2 separate regions of the Homo sapiens genome follow, and region 1 is linked to region 2. Evidence: promoter capture Hi-C in human tissues and cell types (Jung and others, 2019). All regions are on one chromosome and are shown on one strand. The core of a region is centred on a gene start or on the middle of the fragment in contact, and the rest is flanking DNA. Distances in the headings are between cores, read along the strand shown.

Region 1 (7,068 bases), core at 67-2,566, 630 kb after region 2:
TGAGAAGGGGCCCCAGGCACGGTTGTCCTGTTTTCCTCCACCACCCAGCCGTCCCCACCGTGTTGCACCATCCACTTTCGGAGGCCTTCTGTGAAATAAAAAAGGCTTGTGCCCAAGTTCCAGTCGCCCGCCTGTTGGTTCCTAGTGAGACCCCGCCCCTAGCCCCTCCCACGTGCTCACAGTGCAGCTCACTCACCTGACCCTTCCCACCGAGGCCCCGCCCCCTTCCCCTCCCACCAGCTCAGGGCAAAGCCCCGCTCCTCTGGCCCTTCTCACTGATTTGCAGCAAAGCCCTGCCCCTCCAACCCCTCTCTCGGGCTCCCAGAACTGCCCCACTCCCACCCCTCCCACAGGCAAACGGTGAAGCCCTGCCCAGTCAGCCCTGCACCCTGCGTGCCAATGCTGCCTCGTCCCTCCGACACCTCCCACCGGCTCCCAATGCTGCCCCGCCCCTCCGGCACCTCACACCGGCTCCCAATGCTGCCCCGCCTCTCCGACTCCTCCCACCGGTCCCACTGCGGCCCTGCCCCTGCGGCCCCTAGTACCGGTCCCAGTGCGGCCCCGCCCCTCCGGCCCCGCTACCGCTCCCACTGTGGCCCAGCATCCTGGACTTCCTCTTCCGAGATCCCACCTTGGCCGCAGGGGTTGCGAATAAGGTTGCGTCCGATGGGTCTGCGCGCGCAGAAGCGGCCCAGGGGGCAAGGCCTGGCGTTACGGGCGGGAGACTGGCAGCTGCGGGCGAGGTGCAGCAGCGCGCGGCCGGTGGCGCCGTGGTCGCGGGCCAGGATCAGCAGCCACAGGGCCTGGCCGTCCACCAGGGCTCGCCAGCCCCGGCACACTTGGCGGCAGCGCCCGAGCAGCGTGCGCGGGGGGACGTGGCTCAGCACCACCAGAAGCAGCTCTGGGGGTAGTTGGCTCAGGTCCAGCGCCTCTTCGGGTTCCGGCTCCGGCGCGGGGACCCGGGCGGCCCGGCCCCTGGAGACCGAGGCGCCCATGGTCCCCCCGCCAGGCCCGGCTGTGGCTGCGGGAGAGGAAGGGTCAAGGCGTCAGGGACCAGCAGCCTCCGCGGCGCGCAGCCTCTGCCTGCCCTGATTCTGCCAGCCGCACCCCCGTCTTCACCATCCCTGGGCCCCGTCCCCAAGTCCCCATCCCCCAGCCCGTCCTTGATAGCCCCGATATCCCGGAGACCCCGCGGTCTGTGTGTATGCCCCGAATTGCATGCAATCAGCCCCCCTCGGCGGCCGCACCGACACCGCACCCCAAGTCCTACCCCGGGGCCTGGCGGCGCTCCTCGCCGGGATGCCCTAGCTGTGCCGCAAGCTCCCCACGCCCCTCTGCGTCCTTTTTACTCGCCGGCCCCTCCCCTCTTACTAGCCAGCTTCACCCACCCCTGCATCCTCTTTCTTACTCGCCAGCCCCTCCCGCCTGCTCCCTCCCGCTCTCCAAACCCAACCTGCTTCCCGCGACGGGGCCAGGTGCAGCCAGGAGCCAAGGCCTGCTGCTCACAGCCGTCCCCTCCAGCCGGCCCCTTGAAGTGTCCCTAATTCGTTAGTAGCAATGAGACGTCTGGCTCTGAGCAACCATTGTTATTTTGGTCAGGCTTCTGAGTGGGAGGCCTCGTATCCGTTAACGTGTTAAAAAATTTCCATCACCTTTAAGGTCGGGCGTGGTTATCTTCATTTCACAGGAGAAAACAGGCTCCGGCTGCTAAAAATTAATGCAACCAATAGTAACACCAGCCAACTTTTATGGACGGTTTTACTGCCAGCCAGGGTGGCAACCCCATGAAGTAGGTGCTGTTATGCCCTTTACTTCACAGGTGAAAAAACTGAGACCAGCAGAGGCCAAGTGGCTTGTCTATGATCACCAGCTAGTAGGGATTTGAATCCAGCCAGCCTAGCTCCGGAATTCCTCATTTTAACCTCTAGATCAGCTCTGTCCAATAAAAATACAATTGTGGCTGGGTGCGGTGACTCATGCCCGTAATCCCAGCACTTTGGGAGGCCAAGGCAGGCGGATCGCTTGAGGTCAGAAGTTCGAGACCAGCCTGGCCAACATGGTGAAACCCCGTCTCTACTAAAAATACAAAAATTAGCTGGGCGTGGTAGCACGCGCCTGTAATCCCAGCTAATTTGGAGGCTTAGGCAGGAGAATTGCTTGAATCCGGGAGGGGGAGGTTGCAGTGAGCAGAGATTGCACCACTGCACTCCAGCCTGTGCAAAAGAGTGAGTGAGACTCCGTCTCAAAAAACAAACAGAAAAAAAAAATTGTGAAAGTTGATCATGTGAATTGGATCCTTCTTGTCATATCCAACTAAAACAAAGTTGAGAGGCCGGGGGGAAAACACTTAGGGCAGATACCATTGCTCCAAGAAAGTGATTCTCTGCAAGCCTGGCTGTTAAAACTGCCTGTTGTAACCTGGAAGCAGTCTAACTGGTACTGAAAAAACCTGCCGTGACTCTAAGACTAGTTTTTCCCTCTGCTGTCACTTACCAGTCAGAACTTGCCAGCTCCCCAGAACGTTGCTAGTGTCAATGAACTTTCTTGCAAAACAATACCTAACATTTCTGTTTCTTATAAAAACCTCTAACCTCTTTGTTCTTTGAAAGTTCTGAAGACCGCCTGGTCTGTGTGGATGCCTCGAATGTCAATTCTTGCTTCCCAAATAAAACATTTTATTATTTTTTTGAGACAGAGTCTCGCTCTGTCGCCCAGGCTGGAGGGCAGTGATGCAATCTCGTCTCACTGCAACCTCCGCCTCATGGGTTCAAGCGATTCTCCTGCCTCAGCCTCCCGAGTAGCTGGGATTACAGGCGCATGCCACCATGCCCAGCTAATTTTTGTATTTTTAGTAGAGACGGGGTTTCACCATGTTGGCCAGGATGGTCTCAAACTCCCGACCTCAGGTGATCTGCCCGCCTCAGCCTCCCAAAGTGCTGGGATCGCAGGCATGAGCCACCGCAACAAAACATTTTAAATCGAGAGATTTGTCTCTATATCTCTATATTTTATTTGGCTTCGACATAACGTGAGCTGTATACATAGTTTAAGACATCAACAAACAAAACCAGACATGGATTCTTCCCCACAAAGAACTTACCTTCTAGAGGGAGAGACATGATAAACAGTTGGCATAATGAGCAAATTACGTAGTATCAGGGAAATAATTAAATATAAAACCTCCAGGCCGGGCATGATGGCTCACGCCTGTAATCCCAGAACTTTGGGAGGCTGAGGCAGGCGGATCACTTGAGGTCAGGAGTGTGAGACCAGCCTGGCCAAAATGGCGAAACTCCGTCTCTACTGAAAATACAAAAATTAGCCGGGCATGGTGGCGCATGCCTGTGATCCCAGCTACTCGGGAAGCTGAGGCATGAGAATCACTTCAACAAGGGAGGCAGAGGTTGCAGTGAGCTGAGACCTCACCACTGCACTCCAGCCTAGGCGACAGAGTGAGAAGCTGTCTTAAATAAATAAAATAAATAAAACCTCCTTTTGACCCTCTTAGAATCCTCTCCACAAATGCAGAAAAGAATTAAATGGGTCCTGGCATGGGGGCTCACACCTGTAATCCCAGCACTTTGGGAGGCCGAGGCAGGAGGATCTCTTGAGCCCAGGAGTTTGAGACCAGCGCTGGCAACACAGTGAAACCCCGTCTCTACAAAAAATTTAAAAAGTAGCTGCAAATAGTGGTGTGCACCTGTAGTCTCAGCTACTTGGGAGGCTGAGGTGGGAGGATGGCTTGAGCCTGGGAGGTTGAGGCTGCAGTGAGCTGTGATCATGCCACTGCACTTCAGCCTGGGCTACACATCGAGACCCTGTCTCAAAAAAAAAAAAAAAAAAAAAAGAAAAAGAAAAAGAAAACAAGTAAAAAAAAGAATGAAACGGTTGTATTAGTGTATACACTTCAAACTAGCCTGTAATGTGCTTCTGTCATGATGAACAGTAAACATAATAAGTGTGTGTGTGTTAAAAAGTGATTAGTGCTGTGAAAAATTAGAGCAGAGAAGGGAAATGGGGCATAACGAGGCTGGGTTGGGTGGATAGGAGAGGGAGACCCTGAATTAGGAGAGATGGATGAACTATTATGCTGGTCTAATTTCTTCTCAATATGTATATTTTCATTTTTAAAATTTTGTTTCAACTGGACACGGTGGCTCACACCTGTATCCCAACACTTTGGGAGGCCGAGGCAGGTGGATCACCTGAGGTCAAGTGTTTGAGACCAGCTTCACCAACATGGTAAAACTCCGTCCCTACTAAAAATACAAAAACCTAGGTGCAGTGGCTTATGCCTGTAATCCCAGCACTGTGGGAGGCCGAGGTGGCAGATCACGAGGCCAGGAGTTCGAGACCAGCCTGGCCAATATGGTGAAACCCCAACTCTACTAAAAATACCAAAAAAAAAAAAAAAAAAAATTAGGTGGGCATGGTGGTGCGCACTTGTAGTCCCAGCTACTCAGGAGGCTAAGGCAGAAGAATCACTTGAACCCAGGAGGCACAGGTTGCAGTGAGCTGAGATCCCACCATTGCACTCCAGCCTGGGCGACAAGAGTGAAAATTTGTCTAAAAAAAACTGTTTATATATATATATTTGAGACCAGGTCTCACTCTGTCGTAGCTCACTTTAGCCTCAAACTCCTGGAGTCAAGCCATCCTCCTGCCTTAGCCTCTGGGGTAGCTGGGACTAAAGGAGAGACAAGGTCTTGCTGTTGCCCAGGGTGGTCTCAAACTCCTGAGCTCAAGTGGTCCTCTCGCCTCCACCTCCCCAAGTGCTGGGATTATAGGCATGAGCAACTGTGCCCACTAAAACTAATATATTAGTTTTAATGTAATATATAAGCAGTGGGAATCTTGTTGATAATGAGATATGATGACTCAAGTATTTGACTTTTTTAAAAACTTTTTTCACTTTGTCATCCAGGCTGGAATGCAATGGCTTGATCTCAAACTCCTGACCTCAGGTGATCCTCCCGCCTTGGCCTCCCAAAGTGCTGGGATTACAGGCATGAACCACTGCACCTGGCCTGATTTTTTTTTTAACAGTTAAAAGGTTTAAAAAGTTTGAGTAGGTTGGCCAGGGACTGTGGCTGATGCCTGTAATCCCAGCACTTTTGGAGGCCGAGGCAGGCAGATCACTTGAGGTCAGGAGTTCGAGACCAGCCTGGCCAACGTGGTGAAACCCCATCTCTACTTAAAATAAAAAAATTAGCTGGGTGTGGTGGCACACACCTATAGTCCCAGCTACTCAGGAGGCTGAGGCAGGAGAATCGCTCAAACCTGGGAAGCGGAGGTTGGAGTAAGTTGAGATTGAGCCACTGCACTGTAACCTGGGTGACAGAGCAAGACTCCATCTCAAAAAAAAAAAAAAAAAAAAAAAAATTCCAAGTAGGTCAAAAGGGCAGATACTGAAAAGTCAGTGTCCTTTTCCAGTCCCTGGTTCTCCTCCCAAGGGCAAGACTCTTGGTGTCCACCCCAAAGACACCACACCCAGACAGGATTCACCCATCTCTCTGAGGGCTGCTACCTGAGAGACTTTATCTGCAAATAAGATGACCTTTGTTCTTAGTGCAGTTCTGCCCTTCACCCTACCTTAGCTTGTCACCACCATGGTCCAGAAGCCTCCTAGCCCCTATCTATTTCTGTATCTCAAAATGCTATTTAAGCTTCAACCATCTGGACCTTCTTTGAATCTCATACTTTGTGGGGTTTCTCTGTGTGTGCACATAATGGATTTGTGTGCCTTTTCTCTAGTTCATTTGTCTACTGTCAAGTTTATTTCAGAGACTCAAATTATCAAGCCTTCAGAGACGGTGGATGGAAAGTTTCACTTGTCCCTTCACTTGTTAAAAATTTTATAAAGTTCTTTTGAGATGAAGTCTCACTCTGTCACCCAGTTTGGAGTGCAGTGGTGTGATCCTGGCTCACTGCAGACTTGACCTCCCAGGCTCAAGCCATCCTCCCACCTCAGCCTCTCAAAGTGCTGGGATTGCAGGCATGAGTCAGGTCACTGCAGCTGTGACCTCCCAGCCTCAAGTGATCCTCCCATCTCAGCCTCTCGAATACATGGGATTATAGGCACAGCTATAGTCCCACCATGTCTGGGTAATTTTAAAATTTTTTTTGCAGAGATGGGGTCTTGCTACAATGTCCATCCAGTCTCATCTCAAACTCTTGGCCTCAAGTGATCCTCCTGCCTTGGTCTCCCAAAGTGCTGGGATTACAGGTGTGAGCCATCACACTGGCCTTGTCCCTATACTTTATAGCCAGAAAAGGGCTGAGGAAAGCAGAAACAGAGAACAAAAAAACGGATTGGCACTTTCAAAATTACCTTCCTTGTAATGGATAAAGCAGAGTTGTTCTTCAGTTCAGCAAACCAGGAAATCTCTTAATTCAGGAGGGCCAGCTGTGGGTTTTATGGAGCTGTTGCTTCAGAGACTCCACACAGAGGGGGAAATGTTCTAGAGATATACCAAACCCCCTGGGGATTCCAAATCATCAGGCCCACATTTGTAACAAACTCCCAGAAGATGCCAAAGCCTATGCTCCCAGGACGAAGCATTGAGTAGCTGAATCTTACAGGAATCAAGCCAAACATCCCTTGCATGTTGATACACATTTTTTTTTTTTTGAGATGGAGTCTCGTTCTGTTGCCCAGGCTGGAGTGCAGTGGCACGATCTCGGCTCACTGCAACCTCCGCCTCCTGGCTTCAAGTGATTCTCCTTCCTCAGCCTCCCGAGTAGCTGGGATTGCAGGCACACGCCACCAGGCTCTGCTAACTTAAATTTCTCTCCTTTTATTTCCCCTTTACCTTATAGTTAGGGCATTTTGGAGCTAGGTTTTATTATCTAAGTGTTTCATTTCAAGGTAAGAAATTATTTGCTATACATCGGGAGCACTGGCTCTGATGAGGTTGAGCAACACTGATGCAAAGCAAACGTGAGTGGGGGCTGCAGTCTTCTCTCTCTGCTAGGGGTGTGGGTGGGAAGCTGGGGAAAGTCCTGCTGGTCCAGTTTGCAGAAGTAGAAATGTCATGGACCTCCGGGAACAGAGAAGTGGGCTGCACG
Region 2 (7,918 bases), core at 1,555-4,054:
GAACAAAGCCCTGACGGAGGTGAGGGAGTTCTGGGGATGTCTGCAGGGAAGGGTATTTTAAGTAAAGGGAACAGCCAGTGCAAGGCCCTGAGACAGGAGTGTGTCCGGTAAGTCTGAGGAGCTTCAGGGAGCTAGAGTGTTGAGAGGGGAGGAAGCAGAGAAGAGAGCGCTAGGAGATGAGGGCAGAGAGGCGATGGGGCAGATCTGTCAGGCCTTGAAGGGCATTGAATGGACTTAGGTTTTTACCCTGAGTGAGACGGAGCCACAGGAAATTTCAAACATGGGAGGCATGTGACCTGACTCAGTTCACAGGCTCCTTCTGCTGCATGTGGTCAGCAGAGTAGGAGTGGGGTGGGGGACAGCTTCACAGAGAGGAGGCTGCTGTGATGGTTCAGGACAAGACAGCAGCGGACAGGCCCAGGGTGAGGGCCCTGAAGGGTGGAGAAGTGGGCAGGTGTTGGGCCTACTTTGTAAATAGAACCCACAGATTTATGTATGGGATTTGAGATAGAGGAGTCAAGATAGTAAGTCCAGGTTTTTGGCTGGAGCAATTTTTTTTTTTGTTTTAAATTGAGTTCATCACCCAGGCTGGAGTGCAGTGGCATGATCACTGCTCATTGCAGCCTCAAACTCATGAGCCCAAGTGATCCCCCCACCTCAGCATCCCGAGTAGCTGGGATTACAGGTGCACACCACCAAGCCTGGCTAATTTTAAAAATGTTTTTGTAGAGACATGTTCTCACTATGGTGCCTGGTCTGGTCTTAAACTCCTGGGCTCAAGCGATCCTCCCACCTCAGCCTCCTGAAAGGCGGGGATTACAGGTGTGAGCCACTGTGGCCCACCTCTGGGCAATTTTTAACATTTGATTTATGTCAAAAAATAGCCCCCCAAGTGTCCTGCCTTGGGGTAAACAGGGTTATGGGGTTACTCGTATCTGCCCTTAAGGAACAAGTTCTACCCCTGTTCTTCCCTCCAGGCTCCTGGTCCACCCCCAACTTCCAGCAGAATTGTCTAGGAACTACTGGATACCAGGATACAGTAAGGAAGAGATTAGATCTGACACAATGTTTACTTAGCAACAGCAACAAAACAACAGCAGTAGTAACAGTGGAAATAGGTTCCGTGGTTTAAGAGTATAGAGTCTGGAATTTCATCTTCAAGCCTTGGCATCACCATGAATTCACTCTGTGACTTATCTTCTCTCAACCTTAGTTTTCTCTTCTGTAAAAGAGATAAGATACTTCGCCCAATAGTACACATTAAATGCTGTATATATATTAGTTATTCCTTATTAAGTACTCCCTATATATCTGCTAAGCACTTTTTACATATGAAACTCTAATTAATCCTCAGCAACAACTCTAAGAGGTAGGTACTATTATCCCCATTATACAGATGGGAAGCAATTTGGCAGGAACATGGAGCTGGCGAGTAACAGAATCAAGCCCTAACCCTTTGCCTGATTCCTAGGGTGTAATCTCTTAACCACTATGGTGCATTGCACCTGCTCACTCCAAGGCCTAAGAGGGAGAGGAGTGAAGGCCTAACAGGCACATCGTGATCGATGAGGAGGGCCTGGTGTGTGAGGGGTGTGCTGGGATTCCTGGGTCCCTTATGTAATTCAAACCCTGAGGTGGAAAGGAGGGAGGAAGTTTTGGATTTTAGGCAGAGTTGGGTGAACACCACTCCGTCTGGGCTGCTTTAAGAGCAGAGGACAGGGCCAGGAACACTGGCTCAAGCCTGTAATCCCAAGCTTTGGAAGGCTGAGAGGGAAGGATTGCTTGAACACTGGAGTTAGAGGCAAACCTGGGCGACATAGCTAGACCCCTCTCTACAAAACTTTATTTCTTTTTTGACACGGAGTCTTGCTCTGTCCCCAGGCTGGAGTGCAGTGGCGCGATCTTGGCTCACTGCAGTCTGTGTCTCCCGGGCTCAAGCAATTCTCCTGCCTCAGCCTCCCAAATAGTGGTGACTACAGGCGTGTGCCACCACGCCCGGCTAATTTTTGTATTTTTATTAGAGATGAGGTTTCACCATGTGCCCAGGCTGGTCTCGAACTCCTGACCTCAAGTGATCCACCCACCTCAGCCTCCCAAAGTGCTGGGATTACATGCGTGAGCCACCGTGCCCGGCCTCTACAAAACTTTAAAAAAAAAAAAAAATTGGCCGGTTGCAGTGGCTCACGCCTGTAATTCCAGCACTTTGGGAGGCCGAGGCAGGCGGATCGCTTGAACCCAGCAGTTGGAAACCAGGCTGGGCAACATGAGGAAACCTTGTCTCTACAAAAAAATTAAAAACAAATCAGCCAGGCGCGGTGGTCTGCGCCTGTGGTCCCAGCTACTAGGTGTAAGCCACCAAGGCTGACTGATTTTTAAAAATTTAGCTGGGAGGCTGAGGCGGGAGGATCTCTTGAGCCCAGAAGGTCGAGACTGCAGTGAGCCGCGATGGCGCCACTGCAGTCCAGCCTGAACGATAGAGCGAAATCTGCCTCAAAAACAAACCAACAAAACACCAGCAGAAGACAACTGAGGGAGGAAAAGGAAAATGGCACCGAAGTTGTTTTTATGTCGCCGCAACAGTGACACCCGCCGCCAGCTTGTCTTGACAGCGGAGATCCCGAACGCACTGCAATTTACAGCTCCAGGGGGCGTTCCTACAACCCCGACAGGTTAGCCGAGGGGCGGGGCGGGCGGGCCCCGGGGCGGGTTCGGCGTCCTCCTGCGCCAATGGGAGCACCCAAGCCCCTGCGCGGGAAGATGCCGATTGGTCAGTGCCGCCGGACGCTGCGGGGAGCTCGTGCGCGCGGCGCTTTTGGGGCGGAGCCTGCCACCGGCCGCCAGGGGGCGCGCCGAGACCACACTTTCATGGAGGCGGTGAAGGCGGAAGCGTGGGAGGGGGCCGCGGTGGCCCAGGACCTGCTGGCTCTGGGGTAAAAGGGTGTGCGGTGAGGCTGGTGGGTGCAGGAAGGCCAGGTCTGCCCCCTGGACGCGGACGAAAAGGGATTCCCAGTGACATCCCCGCCCCCTCCCGCTGCCTCGGTCCCCACAGGTATGGAGGTGTCCCGGGGGCGGCGTCGCGGGGCGCCTCATGCCCAGACTTCAGGGGGCTGTGCGTGCGGCTGGCGGCGGAGCTGGCGACGCTGGGCGCCCTCGAGCAGCAGCGAGAGGCGGGCGCGGAGGTGCTGAGCGCCGGCGACGGTAAACACGGAGCGGGAGGGTGGCAGGGGGGCCGCCACGGGGCCACCGAGCCCTGACACCCCTGTCCTCGCAGGCCCTGGCGCGGAGGAGGACTTTCTGCGGCAGCTCGGCAGCCTGCTGCGGGAGCTGCACTGCCCGGATCGCGCGCTCTGCGGCGGGGATGGCGCGGCTGCGCTTCGGGAACCCGGTGCCGGACTGCGCCTGCTGCGTGAGTCCCGGGATGCAGAAGTGGCAAGGCCATGGCCTCCGGAGCGGCGGGCTCTGACTTTTTAGGGGAAATCGAGGTTCCCAAGGGGTGTGGTCAGAACTTTGGGGCGGCCCAGAGGGTACGAGGTGGGTGGGGTGAGCATGTTGGGGCAAGCAGAGCGCTCTAAAATGGGCGGGGGTAGAATTTCGTTTTATTTTTTATTTATTTTATTATTATTATTTTTGAGATGGAGTTTCACTCTTGTTACCCAAGCTGGAGTGCAGTGGCGTGATCTCGGCTCACTGCAACCTCCACCTCCCAGGTTCAAGTGATTCTCTTGCCTCAGCCTCCCGAGTAGCTGGGATTACAGGCGCGCGACACCACACTCGGCTATTTTTAGTAGAAACGGGGTTTCACCATGTTAGCCAGGCAGGTCTCGAACTCCTGACCCCAGGTGATCTGTCCACCTCGGCCTCCCAAAGTGTTGGGATTACAGGCGTGAGCCCACCACGCCCGGCCCGGGGTTAGAATTTTAATTGGAGGGCCTAGGAGCTCAAGTGGGTTGGATTAGGAGGAAGGCTTGAGGTTTCAAAGTGGGCAGGAGTGGAATTCGTAGGAGGGGACAGGGTCTCAAGGTGGGGCTTACTCTGGAAGGCTTTAGGTGGGGGGGACTAGAAGGTGGAGGATTTTGTTTTGTTTTGTTTTTAAGTGGAGGTGGGGTCTCCCTATGTTGCCCTGTCTGGTCTTCAACTCCTGGCTTCAAGCGATCCTCCCACCTCAGCCTCCCAAGGTGTTGGGATTACAGGCTACAGGCATGAGCCACTGTGCCTGGGCAAAGGTGGAGGTTTTAAAGCCGGTGGAGCCTCTTTTTTTTTTGAAATGGAGTCTCGCCCTGTTGCCAGGCTGGAGTACAGTGACATGATCTCAGCTCACTGCAACCTCCAACTTCCTGGTTCAAGCGATTTTCCTGCTTCAGCCTCCCGAGTAGCTGGGATTACAAGCACTCACCACTATGTCCTGCTAATTTTTGTATTTTTAGTAGAGACACAGTTTCACCATGTTGGCCAGGCTGGTCTCCATCTCCTGACCTCGTGATCCGCCCGCCTCTGCCTCCCAAAGTGCTGGGATTACAGGTGTGAGCCACCGCACCCGGCCATCAGTGGAGCTTTTTGACCAAGATGGATGAGTGGGTAGCAGCCTCCCTGAGTGCACAGCACCCATTTATTACTTTCAGGCTTTCTCTGCTCAGAGCTCCAAGCCACCCGCCTCCTGTGCCTCCGCTCTCTGCTGGATCCGAGTCCTAGGCCACCCCTTGGTGAAGGGGTAGTGGAGGGAGCCGGCATGGTCCAAGAACTGGACCTTACCCTCCAAGCCCTGGGGCTGCCCAGACCTGCACCAGGGACCCCCGCCAGCCAGCTGCTGCAGGAGTTGCATGCTAAGGTAGAGAGTCAGAGTCCCCTCCCGACCTGGGCTACCCCACTTTCCTTGTGGGGGTGGGGGTCCTCTCTCCACTTCTGGAAGGAGTATTCCAACCACTGGCCTGTTTTTTCTGGAGCTGTGACTGGCATTCTCACATCTGTGGCCTAGGTCCTCAGGGGTGTGGGGAGCTGAGTTTACAGAGGGGCCCATCCTCTCTGCCCCAGTTGGCCTCTGACTTCTTCTCCCATCAGATCTCAGAGCTGCAGCCTTCTCTGCCCCCAGGGTCCCTGCAGCCCCTCCTCAGCTGCTCGCTAGATGCACCCAGATGGGTAAGACTGTGTGCGACTGACTGAATGTGAACTGTGTCCTCATCAGAGGTGGCAGTGAGAGGGACCCCTAGCCTGACCTTGAGACCTTTTCTCCCAGGAAGCGTTGGAGTCTCTGTCCCAAAGCCTCAGAGATCAGTACCGCTGCCGCCGCTGCCTCCTCCTCAAGCGCCTTGACCTCACTACATCTGCTTTCCACTGGAGTGACCGGGCAGAGGTGTGGTGGGCAGGGGACCATGCAGAATTGGAGAGGCCCAGTTGTGGGGGCTGCAGTTGCAGGGAGGAGGAATGAGGGCCAGGAGTATCACCCTCTTGCAGGTTCTCAGGCCATGGACATTTTATAATTTTTTGAGGTTTGGGGCTCCTAGAATCTCAGGGTCCCAGGGTATTGTTGAATTCCCAGCTCTGAGCTGGCAGTATATTCAGAGGCATACCCCATCATTTTTTTTTTTTTTTTGAGACGGGGTCTCACTCTGTTGCCAGGCTGGAGTGTGGTGGTGCGATCTCAGCTCACTGCAACCTCCGACTCCCGGGTTCAAGTGATTCTCCTGCCTCAGCCTCCTGAGTAGCTGGGATTACGGGCACATGCCACCATGCCCAGCTAATTTTTGTATTTTTAGTAGAGACAGGGTTTCACCATGTTGGCTAGGATGGTCTCGATCTCCTGACCTTGTGATCTGCCTGTCTTGGCCTCCCAAAGTGCTAGGATTACAGGCATGAGCCACTGCACCCAGCCTTTTTTTTTTATTTTTTATTTTTTGAGACGGAGTTTTGCTTTTGTTGGCCACGCTGGAGTGCAATGGTGCGATCTTGGCTCACCGCAACCTCCGCCTCCTGGGTTCAAGTGATTTTCTTGCCTCAGCCTCCCGAGTAGCTGGGATTTCAGGCATGCACCACCACGCCGGGCTAATTTTGTATTTTTTAGTACAGACAGGGTTTCTCCATGTTGGTTAGGCTGGTCTCAAACTCCCAACCTCAGGTGATCTGCCTGCCTTGGCCTTCCAAGGTTCTGGGATTGCAGGCATGAGCCACCACGCCTGGCCAAGTGTACCCCATCTTTAAGAGATACGAGCAGAGTCAGGCACAGTGGCTCATGCCTGTTATCCCAGCACTTTGGGAGGCCAAGGCAAGAGGATCACTTGAGCTCAGAAGTTTGAGACCACCTTGGGCAACATAGCAAGACCCCCGTCTCTACTAAAAATTAAAAAAAAAAAAATTAGCTGGGCATGGTGGCGCATGCTTGTCCATCTCAGTTACTCAGGAGGCTAAGGTAGGAGGATCACTTGAGCCCAGGAGATTGAGGCTGCAGTGAGCCACCATCACGCCACCACACTCCAGGCTGGGTGACAGCGAGACCCTGTCTCAAAAAATAAATATTTATTTGAGCTGTGGGCAGTGAGGTCTTGAATGGTAAAGTAATGCTTCCAAGATGACAGGTCCCACGTGGGGAAGGGCTCCAGGGTACCTTCTCTTACCTCCTCCCCACTCCAGGCCCAAGGAGAGGCCATGAGGGCAGTGCTGATCCCAATTCGAGAGGTTCTGACCCCAGAATCGGACATCTCCATTGCACACGTTCTGGCTGCCCGAGCCGACCTGTCTTGTCTCGTCCCAGCCACCAGCGTGGCTGTCCGCAGAGGGACCTGCTGTGCCATCAACAAGGTGGGCATCTGGGGTAGGGAAGGGCCCTGGCATCCTTGGCCTTCAGATTGGCCTTTCAGCCTCTGCTCCAGTCCAAGTTTCAGACTTACCACCTCTAATCCACCCACTAGACATGGCAGCTAGAAGGACCTCGCTCACACAAAAACTGACTGTGGACTCCCCAGCTCAGAATGCTTCCGTGGCTCCCTAATGATCTGAAAACAAAGTCTAGCTATTTACTGAGTCCCTGGCTACTTCTCCAGCTTGGGCTTAAAATCCTTCCCTATCACCAAACACTACCTATTTGTTGTTTTTTAACCTTTTTTTTTTTCAAGACAGAGTCTTGCTCTGTCACCCAGGCTGCAATGCAGTGGCTTGATCTTGGCTCACTGCAACCTCCACCTCCCGGGTTCAAGCGATTCTCCTGCCTCAGCCTACCGAGTAGCTAGGATTACAGGCACCCACCACCATGTCCGGCTAATTTTTGTATCTTTAGTAGTGACGGGGTTTCACCATATTGGTCAGGCTGGTCTTGAACTCCTGACCTTGTGATCTACCCGCCGTGGCCTCCTAAAGTGCTGGGATTACAGGTGTGAGAAACCGCACCCTTTTAACCATTTAAAAAAAAAAAACAAAGACAGAAATAGGCCAGGCACAGTGGCTCACGCCTGTAATCCCAGCACTTTGGGAGGCCGAGGCAGGCGGATCACGAGGTTAGGAGATCGAGACCATCCTGGCTAACACGGTGAAACCCCATCTCTACTAAAAATACAAAAAAAAAATTAGCCGGGCGTGGTGGCAGACACCTGTAGTCCCAGCTACTCAGGAGGCTGAGGCAGGAGAATGGCGTGAACCCAGGAGGCGGAGCTTGCAGTGAGCCAAGATGGCACCACTGCACTCCAGCCTGGGCGACAGAGCAAGACTCTGTCTCAAACAAACAAACAAACAAAAAACAGAAATACCCTCTGTTTTAGTGATTAGGTATCTAGCCGCATGCCTCTGTAAGTAGTCTTATGTAAAATGAGTATTAGGGAATAAAGTCTAACACAGCAACTATTGAGGCAAAATTTAAGTTAAGAAAAAAACTGAGCCCGAGGTGGGTGGATCACTTGAGCCCAGGAGCAGAGGTTGCAGTGAGCCGGGTTCTCGC

What was found. The method cuts DNA at HindIII sites, captures the fragments that hold promoters and counts their contacts. A contact is called where the count stands out against the background at its distance.
Region 1: a contact is called between the fragment with the promoter of FBXO27 here and the fragment with the promoter of FAM98C in region 2, in 1 of the 25 tissues and cell types used here (heart left ventricle).

The regions. Positions count from the first base shown.
Region 1 is chr19:39,031,233-39,038,300 of GRCh38, forward strand. It overlaps FBXO27 (F-box protein 27), which reads right to left and starts at 1,317. Exons shown (of 6, transcript NM_178820.5): 1 at 1,271-1,317; 2 at 632-1,021; 3 at 1-88. The coding sequence starts at 995. RefSeq lists enhancers at 1-5, 412-1,204 and silencers at 114-296, 146-385, 536-615, 816-965, 1,026-1,095. The HindIII fragment of the contact is 13,585 bases long and covers 1-7,068 here.
Region 2 is chr19:38,400,289-38,408,206 of GRCh38, forward strand. FAM98C (family with sequence similarity 98 member C) reads left to right here and starts at 2,805. Exons shown (of 8, transcript NM_174905.4): 1 at 2,805-2,930; 2 at 3,050-3,198; 3 at 3,272-3,406; 4 at 4,620-4,825; 5 at 5,056-5,133; 6 at 5,231-5,347; 7 at 6,622-6,789. The coding sequence starts at 2,866. RefSeq lists silencers at 1-29, 2,592-2,921, 3,112-3,311. The HindIII fragment of the contact is 13,651 bases long and covers 1-7,616 here.